Regions from separate parts of the Homo sapiens genome. Here region 2 is linked to region 1. Evidence: promoter capture Hi-C in 16 types of primary human blood cells and fetal thymus (Javierre and others, 2016). All regions are on one chromosome and are shown on one strand. Each heading gives the region's core, a stretch centred on a gene start or on the middle of the fragment in contact. The rest is flanking DNA. Distances are from core to core; before and after follow the strand shown.

Evidence for each region. The method cuts DNA at HindIII sites, captures the fragments that hold promoters and counts their contacts. A CHiCAGO score of 5 or more calls a contact.
Region 2: a fragment that was not itself captured here is called in contact with the fragment with the promoter of GAL3ST4 in region 1 in 8 of 17 cell types (total B cells, naive CD4 T cells, non-activated CD4 T cells and 5 more); the score reaches 7.3 in total B cells.

Annotation. Positions count from the first base shown.
Region 1 is chr7:100,166,227-100,171,261 of GRCh38, reverse strand. GAL3ST4 (galactose-3-O-sulfotransferase 4) reads left to right here and starts at 2,645. Exons shown (of 4, transcript NM_024637.5): 1 at 2,645-2,716; 2 at 3,979-4,291; 3 at 4,457-4,760. The coding sequence starts at 4,167. It overlaps GPC2 (glypican 2), which reads left to right. Exons shown (of 10, transcript NM_152742.3): 9 at 1; 10 at 779-1,656. The coding sequence ends at 1,032. The HindIII fragment of the contact is 24,826 bases long and covers 1-5,035 here.
Region 2 is chr7:100,200,436-100,205,470 of GRCh38, reverse strand. It overlaps STAG3 (STAG3 cohesin complex component), which reads right to left. Exons shown (of 34, transcript NM_001282717.2): 18 at 4,929-5,018; 19 at 4,502-4,702; 20 at 4,311-4,381; 21 at 4,120-4,207; 22 at 3,605-3,685; 23 at 3,430-3,522; 24 at 3,131-3,299; 25 at 2,881-3,017; 26 at 1,349-1,450; 27 at 696-844; 28 at 338-466; 29 at 87-244. It also overlaps the pseudogene CASTOR3P. Among named protein-coding and RNA genes, the nearest start is that of PVRIG, 17 kb to the left of the region's middle. The HindIII fragment of the contact is 283 bases long and covers 2,777-3,059 here.

The DNA.
Region 1 (5,035 bases), core at 1,396-3,895:
GGTGAGACCCCTGCATCCCTGAGCCTGAGCCCCGCCCACTGCCCTGAAGCCTCTCCCCTCTCCTGGTAGTTCCCGCCCGTGCCTCTGCTCTTAGCGTTCATTGATTAATTCACTAATTCATTCAACGAGCATTTATTGAGCGTTGCCCTGAAAGACTGGGGGTAACAGATCAATGAGGGGGTCTGTATCCTTTCAGGCCAGTAGGGGAGACACGAAAACATTCTTAAAGAACAGTGGGAAGCCCCTTATAATGGGCAAAGGGCAGTGGGAAAATGGGGGAGGGGGCAATTTGGGGGAGGCTGGGAAGCCAGGGTGGTGGGTGACATTGAGCTGGCTCCGCAGGGTGGAGTTTGCCAAACAGAGAAGCAAGGCACAGACACTCATTGTTTTCTTCTCTCCTTCTATCTGTCTGTCTCTGTCTCTCTTTGTCACTCTTCCCGCACCCCTCTTCCTGGCTGCTTTCTGCTTCTGTGTACTTCTGATTTTTCTGTTTTTTCCTGTTATCCTCTCTCCCCATCTGCCTGTTTTGTTTTTTTTTCTCTCTGTCTCACTGTCTCCCATCATGATCTCTCCCCCCATGTCTGCTGTCGGATCTCTCTCCTTCCTTCTCTCCCTGCCTTCCTGTCACTCATGGTCTTTCTCCCTTCCCCAACCCGGCATCCACCTGTGTCTCCCTCCCTTTCCTCTCTCTTTCTGTTTTTATCTCAATTTCTTTTCCTCCCTCTGTCTCCCTCTGCTTCTCCCTCCCATCCTGCTCTGTCCCTCTTCTTCCTTGCAGATGAGGATGCCAGCGGCTCTGGAGGGGGACAGCAGTATGCAGATGACTGGATGGCTGGGGCTGTGGCTCCCCCAGCCCGGCCTCCTCGGCCTCCATACCCTCCTAGAAGGGATGGTTCTGGGGGCAAAGGAGGAGGTGGCAGTGCCCGCTACAACCAGGGCCGGAGCAGGAGTGGGGGGGCATCTATTGGTTTTCACACCCAAACCATCCTCATTCTCTCCCTCTCAGCCCTGGCCCTGCTTGGACCTCGATAACGGGGGAGGGGTGCCCTAGCATCAGAAGGGTTCATGGCCCTTTCCCCTCCTCCCCCCTCAGCTGGGCCTGGGGAGGAGTCGAAGGGGGCTGCAGAGAGGGTAGAGAAGGGACTTTGCAGGTGAATGGCTGGGGCCCCAAATCCAGGAGATTTTCATCAGAGGTGGGTGGGTGTTCACAATATTTATTTTTTCATTTGGTAATGGGAGGGGGGCCTGGGGGTATTTATTTAGGAGGGAGTGTGGTTTCCTTAGAAGGTATAGTCTCTAGCCCTCTAAGGCTGGGGCTGGTGATCAGCCCCAACAGAGAAAATGAGGAGTTTAGAGTTGCAGCTGGGGAAGGGGTTTGAAGGAAGTTGGAAGTGGGGAGGGGTGGGGGCATCTGGTCTCAGAAATGGACCAGCTGGATGCAGGGCAGGGGACTGAGGGTGCTTGAGTAGGATGTGAGACTTCATGGGCCTGGGTTCTGTTGAGTTTTTTCAGTATCAATTTCTTAAACCAAATTTTAAAAAAAACAAGGTGGGGGGGTGCTCATCTCGTGACCTCTGCCACCCACATCCTTCACAAACTCCATGTTTCAGTGTTTGAGTCCATGTTTATTCTGCAAATAAATGGTAATGTATTGGACCCCATGTGTGGCTTCTGTGCTGTCACCATCAGTGCCTGAGCCCTGGCTCCTAGCAGAGGTCTCAGAGCCTCTGTGACTGGCTCATTTTCTGCCGGCTTTTCACTTCCCTTGGCACCTGTCCCCCAGGAGGCGGGCCTAGACAATAACCTCTGATCTCCAAATTGCCCACCCTCTGGGCCTCTGAGCATCTTCGTTTGTACAACAGGGAGAATTGTGGGGACCAAATAGAATCTGTGTGAAAAAGCACCTTGTCACCTGCAAAATGCTCTTTGAACATGAGGCTTTTTTTTTTTTTTTTTTGAGATAGAGTCTCGCTGTTGTCGCGAGGCTGGAGTGCAATGGCGCGATCTCAGTTCACTGCAACCTCCGCCTCCCCAGTTCAAATGATTCTCCTGCCTCAGCCTCCTGAGTAGCTGGGATTACAGGCGCCTGCCACCACAGTCAGCTAATTTTTGTATTTTTAGTAGAGACGGGGTTTCACCATGTTGGCCAGGCTGATCGCAAACTCCTGACCTCAAGCGATCCACCAGCCTTAGCCTCCCAAAGTGCTGGGATTACAGGCGTGAGCCACCGCACCCGGCCACGAAGCATTATTAAGGTGACCACACCACTGCCCCCTGCCTTCAGGATGGGAGGCCTTGTTCTCTGAGTGTCAGTCTCTGGCTACCTTGCCACGTCCTTGACAATGTCTGCTTTCAAATATCACTTTCTCCTTCCTTCCTTCTTTCTTTCCACCGCCTGAATGAATCTTTTGTTCTGCGGCAAGCCAAGAGAAAATGGTAGGATTGATTCCCAAGTGTGAAAGCGGGGGCGGAAGTGGTGTCTTCCAAGAGGAGTCTGGGTGCCCTGCCGAAGAGGGGAAGATGCAGCGAGGGAGAGACCTAGAACCGCGATCAAAGCTGCAGCAGCTGCTGGGGCTGGCGGCACAAAGGGAGGAGGGAGGAGCCTGGGCGCTGAGAAAGTTCTTGGGGAAAGTTGAGCTGAGCCAAGAGTCGGGCGGTGGCTGGGATGGGCGGGAGGGCCCGGCCCGATTTCCCTTGCTGCTCCCCTTGTGGCCTGGTGAGTGGGAAGTGAAACCAAGGATAGGACCAGTGGAGGGACCCTCTAATTTATGGGAGGAGACATGAGGGGTTCATGGAACCCCAGCGGGGGCAACTGGGCAGTCACCAAAGCTGGAGGGGACAGAGGGCTGGGATCTCCAATCATGGGAAGGGAGAGATGGATGGAAGGAAATGAAGAACTCTGGATAGGGGAGACGCGGCTAGACCCCAGGGGCTGTGATCAGGGAGGGAATTGGGGAGTGATGCCAGAGAGGGCAGGTCTCCGGGAGTAAAAGTGTGGCTTCTCTCTGCTTGGGGTTACCCCTGGCTCATCGGAGCAGGGAGCTGTCGGGGCTTGTTGGAGGGGCCGTGGTCCCTGATCGCGAGTTGTAATCTGAAGGGGCGGGGCTGGACTCCCGGTTGATTAGGAAGCTCGGGCTTCAGAAGGAACTCTGCAGTTAGTGTTTGCGCCTTTCTCCTTATCTTTGTGTCATAGTCTCTCTGTCCCTCTGTCTCTCTCTCTCTGTTTCTCTGTGTGTGTGTGTGTGTGTGTGTGTGTCTCTCTCTCTTTCTGTCTCCCTCTCCAGCCCCACCCTTTCAGTCTCCTCCGGGTGCACTGATAAGGTTGGAAAGTGGAATGGTGGGTAAGTCCAGGGATCTGGGCTTTATAAGTAGCCACACGTCTCCCCCAGCCCCTGTCATACATGGGGGTCTGCCCCGTGCTGAGACAGAGAAAAAAGAGGCGCGGGAATTTATAACCCAATGGCTCTTACCCATTGCAATGCCACTCCTGGAAGTCCAACCTCCCTTCCTCCTGCCTGGGTTCATACACCTGTGTCCTGTCTGATCCTCATTCCCACTGTATGGCTTCCCTTCCTGGTCCTGGGATAGGGCTCTTTATCCCCATCTGTGACAGCCAGAGGGGCTCTGGAGGAAACCAGGTTCCCGACCATGGTCTGACCTGACTGTGTTAATGAGCTGATTGATCTGATCTCTCTCTCTCTTGCTGGCTGTTTCATTCACGAGCTGGGGCTTTTTCTCTCCTTCCCTTATAAATCCCCAAGGCTCAGGGACAACTGTAGGTGGGGAGCGGGAGGAACTGGAGATAAGAAAGTGATAGAGCAGAGACAGTAGTTGTGGGGCCACCTAGGAGAGTCTGGGTATAGACAACATCCCCAGCCACTCCCCTTCCCTGAAGGAGGTCTCAGCTGCAGCAGGAGAGAAGGCTGCCTCTGCCTCTCTCCTTAGACTTCCCTTCTTCCCCCCTCATTTCCCTTCTAGACGCTGACAGAGGCAAAAATCTGCTAACTCAGGGGGCAGACTCAACCAAGACTGTGAGCAGGCCTGGGGAATGACCCCCCGATCTCCAACCAGTGCCTTCCGCAGCTGCACGGCTGTCTCCAGCTGTCTCTGCCCCTCTTCCTGGCCCTGGCTCCATCTCTCTGTCACCTCACCCTTCCCTGTGCCACATGGGCCCTCTCTCTCCTGCCAGGACGCTGCGGCTCTGGGGACCTCGGAGCCTGGGGGTGGCTCTGGGAGTCTTCATGACCATTGGCTTTGCACTCCAGCTCTTGGGAGGGCCCTTCCAGAGGAGGTGAGTTCCCACTTTGCCCCAACTCCTTCTAGACGCCCCGTACTTGCTCTTCCCCATCCCACCTGGGGCTGGTGACTCCTGAGGACTCAGAAGCCTCCATGCCCTCTGTCCCTTCTACCCATTTGCTGCTGAGGAACAGGACACTCCCCCTCCATCTCTTCCCAGGCTACCTGGGCTACAGCTCCGACAGCCCTCGGCCCCATCCCTACGACCAGCCCTTCCGTCCTGCCCACCCCGGCAGCGACTGGTGTTCCTGAAGACACATAAATCCGGGAGCAGCTCTGTGCTGAGCCTGCTTCACCGCTATGGGGACCAGCACGGGCTGCGCTTCGCCCTCCCTGCCCGCTACCAGTTTGGCTACCCAAAGCTCTTCCAGGCCTCTAGGGTAAAAGGCTACCGCCCACAGGGTGGAGGCACCCAGCTCCCCTTCCACATCCTCTGTCACCACATGAGGTTCAACCTGAAAGAGGTAAGGAGTGTCGCAGTGGTGGGAGGGACCAGAAACAGATGGGCTCAGGCTGACACCACCAAGGGAGGGGGCCCAGACCTGGGGGCTCCCCAGGCATCATCTCACCCTAAAGTTGGACATAGGGGCCACAAAGTTGGGCTCCCTGCCATCCTCTCTACAGGTGTCCCTTCCCCAGTAGTTTCTGGGAGCCCAAGTCCTCCTCCCTTCTCTCTCTGGCGCTTACTCCAGTCTCTCTCTTTCACCAATGTATTTCCCTGGCATCAGTGCCTTGCCAA
Region 2 (5,035 bases), core at 1,669-4,168, 34 kb before region 1:
GCTCAATGAAATACTTGACAAAATAAGTTTGCAGGCAGCCAACGACCACCTGCTGGGCACCCCCATACCCACACACAGCACCCTACCTTCAACGCGCCTCCTCTTGGAGCTGGGGAGGACCTGAGGGCTGGTCTCTGCTGTGTTCTCCACAGGGCTGAGGGAGTGGCAGTAGGTGGTGACTGGGCCCCAGGGATGGCCAGGTGCCTGGGAGACATGCTGCAGGCACTTTTCTAGATAGGACAGTCTATGAAAGAGGTAGAACCAAAAGCCTGAAGGGGCTACTGGGCCCTCAGCAGGCCCTTCCCTAATCCACATCTCTATCCACCCACCAACTTACAAAAGCTGCTTGTCCTGATGGAAGAGTCGGGGGGAAAACTCTGAAAGGAGCTCCAGGAATGCCAGATTTGGAGGCTGATTGGAGGAGCCAGCTGGAGGAAGCTCAGACAAGGAGAACTGGATGCCTTCCCTTGGTTGGGCAGAATTATTTTAGGAAGAAAGTCTCTTCCCACTTCCCTCCCAGGCCTGAGCTATCCTGTCCAAATGCACCCTCCCCCCGTCCCCAGCTTGTCTCCAAAGGCATACCCACCCCTAACCTGACTGCTATGCCTTGACACACATACCCTCCCTCCGAGACCTCCCTCCAAGACCTCGTTCCCAGCCCTCCCTGGACACAACCTGCAACCAATACTTCCTACTTGTGTAGCATGACCACGAGGTCACGGTTCTGCAGCTGCTGGGGTCCAAAACTCAAGGCAAACCTCCGGGCCAGGTCCCTCATCTCGATGAAGGCAGGAAGCTCATTCAGGCCCTGGGGCCCATGCTCCTGCAGCAGTTCTGTGTACAGCTGTGTCCAGGAGACATGGTGCATGTGGGAAAGGGAGGAACACGGCGGAAACAGAGAAGTCCAGCATTCTCTTCTCTACTCAGAAATTCCAAAGGCCTTGGGACACCATCTACTACTTTTACTCTTTCCTTCCTTCTAGGGAACTCCCGATACCCCTGCAGCAAACAAAGCCAATCACCTCTACTCCATAACATTAAATAAAAACGTCTATAGTAACTGAAGGAGGCTGAGAGAGAACAGACTGAAAAATAATTAGGAACTCCCTATCACTTCCTTGTTGGCGTTCCAATGTCCTGATAAGTTACTTTTGATGGGGTTGCCCAGTCAGTTAAAAAAAAAATACTTCCCAAGGGTCTACTAAGAATGAAGGAACCTATCACGTAAAGTTAAGAGTCAAAACAAGAAAAGTTACTGCTCTGAAGGATCTTACATTCTGAGTGGCTGAGGGTAGACAGAGACTTGGGGACAACAGGGCTGGCATGTCCTCAAGGCAGAAGGGCGCACCTGCTTGAGGCTCAGCAGCAGGATTCGGGAACAATGACTTCGGTCAATCTGCCTTGCTCTAGTTAATGTTTCCTTGATAATGTCACCATAGTCATTGTAGAACTGAGGGGAAAGAGTGGGGAAGGTAATGTCTGACTGGTGGAAAAGACCATTTGGTTTCTTCCTTCACATCCCTAATCATGTCTCCCTCCCAAACTCCCTTAGGTAGGAAACATGAACTGAAGCATAAAATAATTCAGACTAGACTTCATCTCTAATCAACAGGTGCAAAGCCCAAAATAAATCAGAGTTTCGGTAAACAAATAATAAGGCCGGGTGCAGTGGCTCACACCTGTAATCCCAGCACTTTGGGAGGCCAAGACGGGTGGATCACGAGGTCAGGAGATCGAGACCATCCTGGCTAATACGGTGAAACCCCGTCTCTACTAAAAATACAAAAAATTAGCCGGGCGTGGTGGTGGGTGCCTGTAGTCCCAGCTACTCGGGAGGCTGAGGCAGGAGAATGGCGTGAACCCAGGAGCCGGACCTTGTAGTGAGCCGAGATCACGCCACTGCACTCCAGCCTGGGCGACAGAGCGAGATTCCGTCTCAAAAAATAAATAAATAAATAAATAAATAAAATAAAAAACAAATAATGAAACAGGCCAGGCATGGTGGCTCACGCCTATAATCCCAGCAGTTTGGGAGGCCAAGTTGGGCGGATCACAAGGTCAGGAGATCAAGACCATCCTGGCGATGGTGAAACCCTGTCTTTACTAAAACTATAAAAATTAGCTGGGCGTGGCAGCGCATGCCTGTAATCCCAGCTACTTGGGAGGCTGAGGCAGGAGAACTGCTTGAACCCCGGGAGGCAGAGGTTGCAGTGAGCCGAGATAGTGCCATTGCATTCTAGCCTGGCGACAGAGCTAGAATCTGTCTCAGGAAAAAAAAAAAAAAAGAAAAGAAAAGAAATAAACACTGCCCCAAGCCCAATTCTTGGAGAAGAGAAGTAAGCCTGACAGTGCCCTCTCACACAGCACTGACACCTTCACTATTTGTCTCTCCCCAACTACAATGGAAGCTCCACCAAATAGGAACTTGTGTGTTTTGTTCACTGCTGTGGCCTTAGCTCCTGGAATGGTGCTTGGCACACAGCAGGTGCTCAATAAGCATAAATCAATACTGGTGGGTTGAGGAAACTGGGGCACCTATCTAGGTATCCTGTGAGGACTGATCCCTCTTTTATTCTTTTTTCCTTCTTATGTTACCCCATTCCATAGACTGGGGTCAGAGAAAAATAAATATTTCTGGACAGGAAGAATAAGCTATTTCCCCTCCAGTGAATTTCTTCACAGCTTTTTCTCCATAATTATTTACTATTAAGTCTCTTTTCTTTGTCCCCTTATTCTGAACTCCCAGTGCCTTTCCCTCCTACTTCTCCTTTAAGCTTGAAACCATTGGATATCCCCCACCTGTAGTGCTATTATGTTTCCAAGTCATGGCTGTGCTCAACTTGCTCCCTTCTCTTTTATTTCTGTAGGGCCTTGGTGTACCTTGTTGTAGTGTTTGAAAACATCTGAGGCTGCATCCATCTCCAGCACCCCATAAAGCAACAGCTTGCAGAACCCGGCTAGGAGGCGGCGCCGCTGGTGTAGCCGCTCTATCTGTAAATGATCCTCCTGGGAATCACCTGGCTCACATGGAAGGCAAAAGGGAATCACAGACTTAAGCTTCCTGCCCTATATTTCTGAGCTACACCCAAGCCCCAGCCCTTACTGAGCCCCAGGTATAGAGTCACTGCACCACTGCCCAGGTCTCCCGGCTGGATGAAGACGTGGTCCATGAGGAAGCTGGCTAGCTCAGACTGGAGAGTAGCTTCAGGAAAAAAGACAAGTGGCCTAAGGAAATCACGGCCCCCAACAATCATCTGAGGGCTAAAGATGAGAAGTAGATCACTTAATAAGACAAAAGCCTGTAGGGGGAAAAGAAAGGATGTTTAAAAGGACAGAATGTTTCCCAAGGTAGAAATGACACTGTCAATTTCTCCTTGGAATGGGGGCAGGGATACTCGCCTTGTTGCTCCCACTTGAGTCAGTACTCACCTGCTCCTGGATCTCAGTATCCACATCTGAGAGGCAACTCTGGCAGAGTTCACAGAAGGCCACCATTCTGTCCCTCAAACTCGACAGCTGCTTCTGTGGGCACAGTGGCTTGAAGGGGAAGAATGAAGACACAGACTCCTCTGTTCCCATTATCCCATCTAAGACCCACACTCACCTGGGAAGCATCTGATTTAGAAATGTGGGTTAGTGTCCAGAGAATGGAAAAATAGACAAGAGTCAAGGCTGGCAGGATAACCTGTAACAACAAAGGGTTTGAAAAATGAGGTTTGGGTTAGGAGAGGGAGAGACAGATAGCCAGAAACACACCAGTGAAGAGGAGAGAAAATGAGTAAAGGGAGAGCTAATTCCTTTTCCAGTGGAAAATGAGTGATATTCTGGACATTCTTCAGAGGCATCTACACGAAGTAGAAATGTCACCGCTCCCTAATTTACTCTACGTCTTCTAGAATCCCTCAATATTATCCTTGGCTTCCAGGAAATCCAAGAAGACCCTGGAAGTAGAGTCCACCTTCTAAGAGAGGAATGTAAGAGGTGACCCCCACCCACCTGATCTTCCTCGCTTTGTCCACTCCACGCACTGAGACTTGACACACCTAGTGGCCACCTAGAACGTAGGTCCTTAAAATCTAGCCCCCCAGCCCCCAACCCATCTCTAGCCTGTCCACTCACCTGGTGAGGAACCTCTCCTGTGTCCACAGCCTTCTGCAGGAGTTGGCAACATGGCTCATAGAGCTCCCAGCGAGTCAGGTCATGAGTGCTTTGGGGGAGAAAGGGGAATGTTATACTGGAAAAGAACAGAGGGAACCAACTCCACAGACACCAGTAAAAACGGGATGGGGAAGAGGAGGAAAGCCACTCACTTGTAGAAGGCAGAGAGGCGTTTCAGAGTGGCTGCCAGATTATATACCTCATCCTCATCTAGGAAGGACGACTGAGAAGGAAAGAAGATCCACAATAGCATTTCCCCCAGAACTCATCAGTCCACATCCCCCGTCTTGCAGCCCCTCCCACCCTTGTTTGGGGTGTCCCATTGTCCAGCCCCAGCTCCTACCTGTAACAGCTCTTCAAGCTCCTGCTGGAAGCGGTCAGTCAGCAAATCTACTAGCTGGCTGCGGGCAAAGTCCGCCCGGCTGAAGAAAGTGAATTCGGGATTACAGAGCAGGTAGAGGGCATGCGCCCCAGCCTCAAGCACCGCTGGCTCTGCATGCTTCACCACCACCTCCTGGAGTTGCTGCAGGAACAGCTCCAGGTGCTGAGAAGAAAAGGCAGAAGATGGTGTGCTGTGGGGATGGGAGGAGGACACTCTTCTGGCGGGAAGTGGAACGGGGTTAAAAGCATTAAACTTCAAGGATAAGATGCCTAAGAAAAGGCTTGCTGATTTTTCTGGAACCCAAGTTCTTAGGAAAAAAAGATACTGGCAATAGAACCCTTTGGCCCTGGCAGGCAAGCAGCAAGGTATAGGAAATCTATCTCCCTACCTTCTCCAAGCGCCCAGTGCAGTAGATGTGGAGGTCAAAGCAGCTGAGAAGCTGGAGCAGGGGAGTGACCTTCTCTGCATCAGCTGAGAACTGTGATGATTGACAGG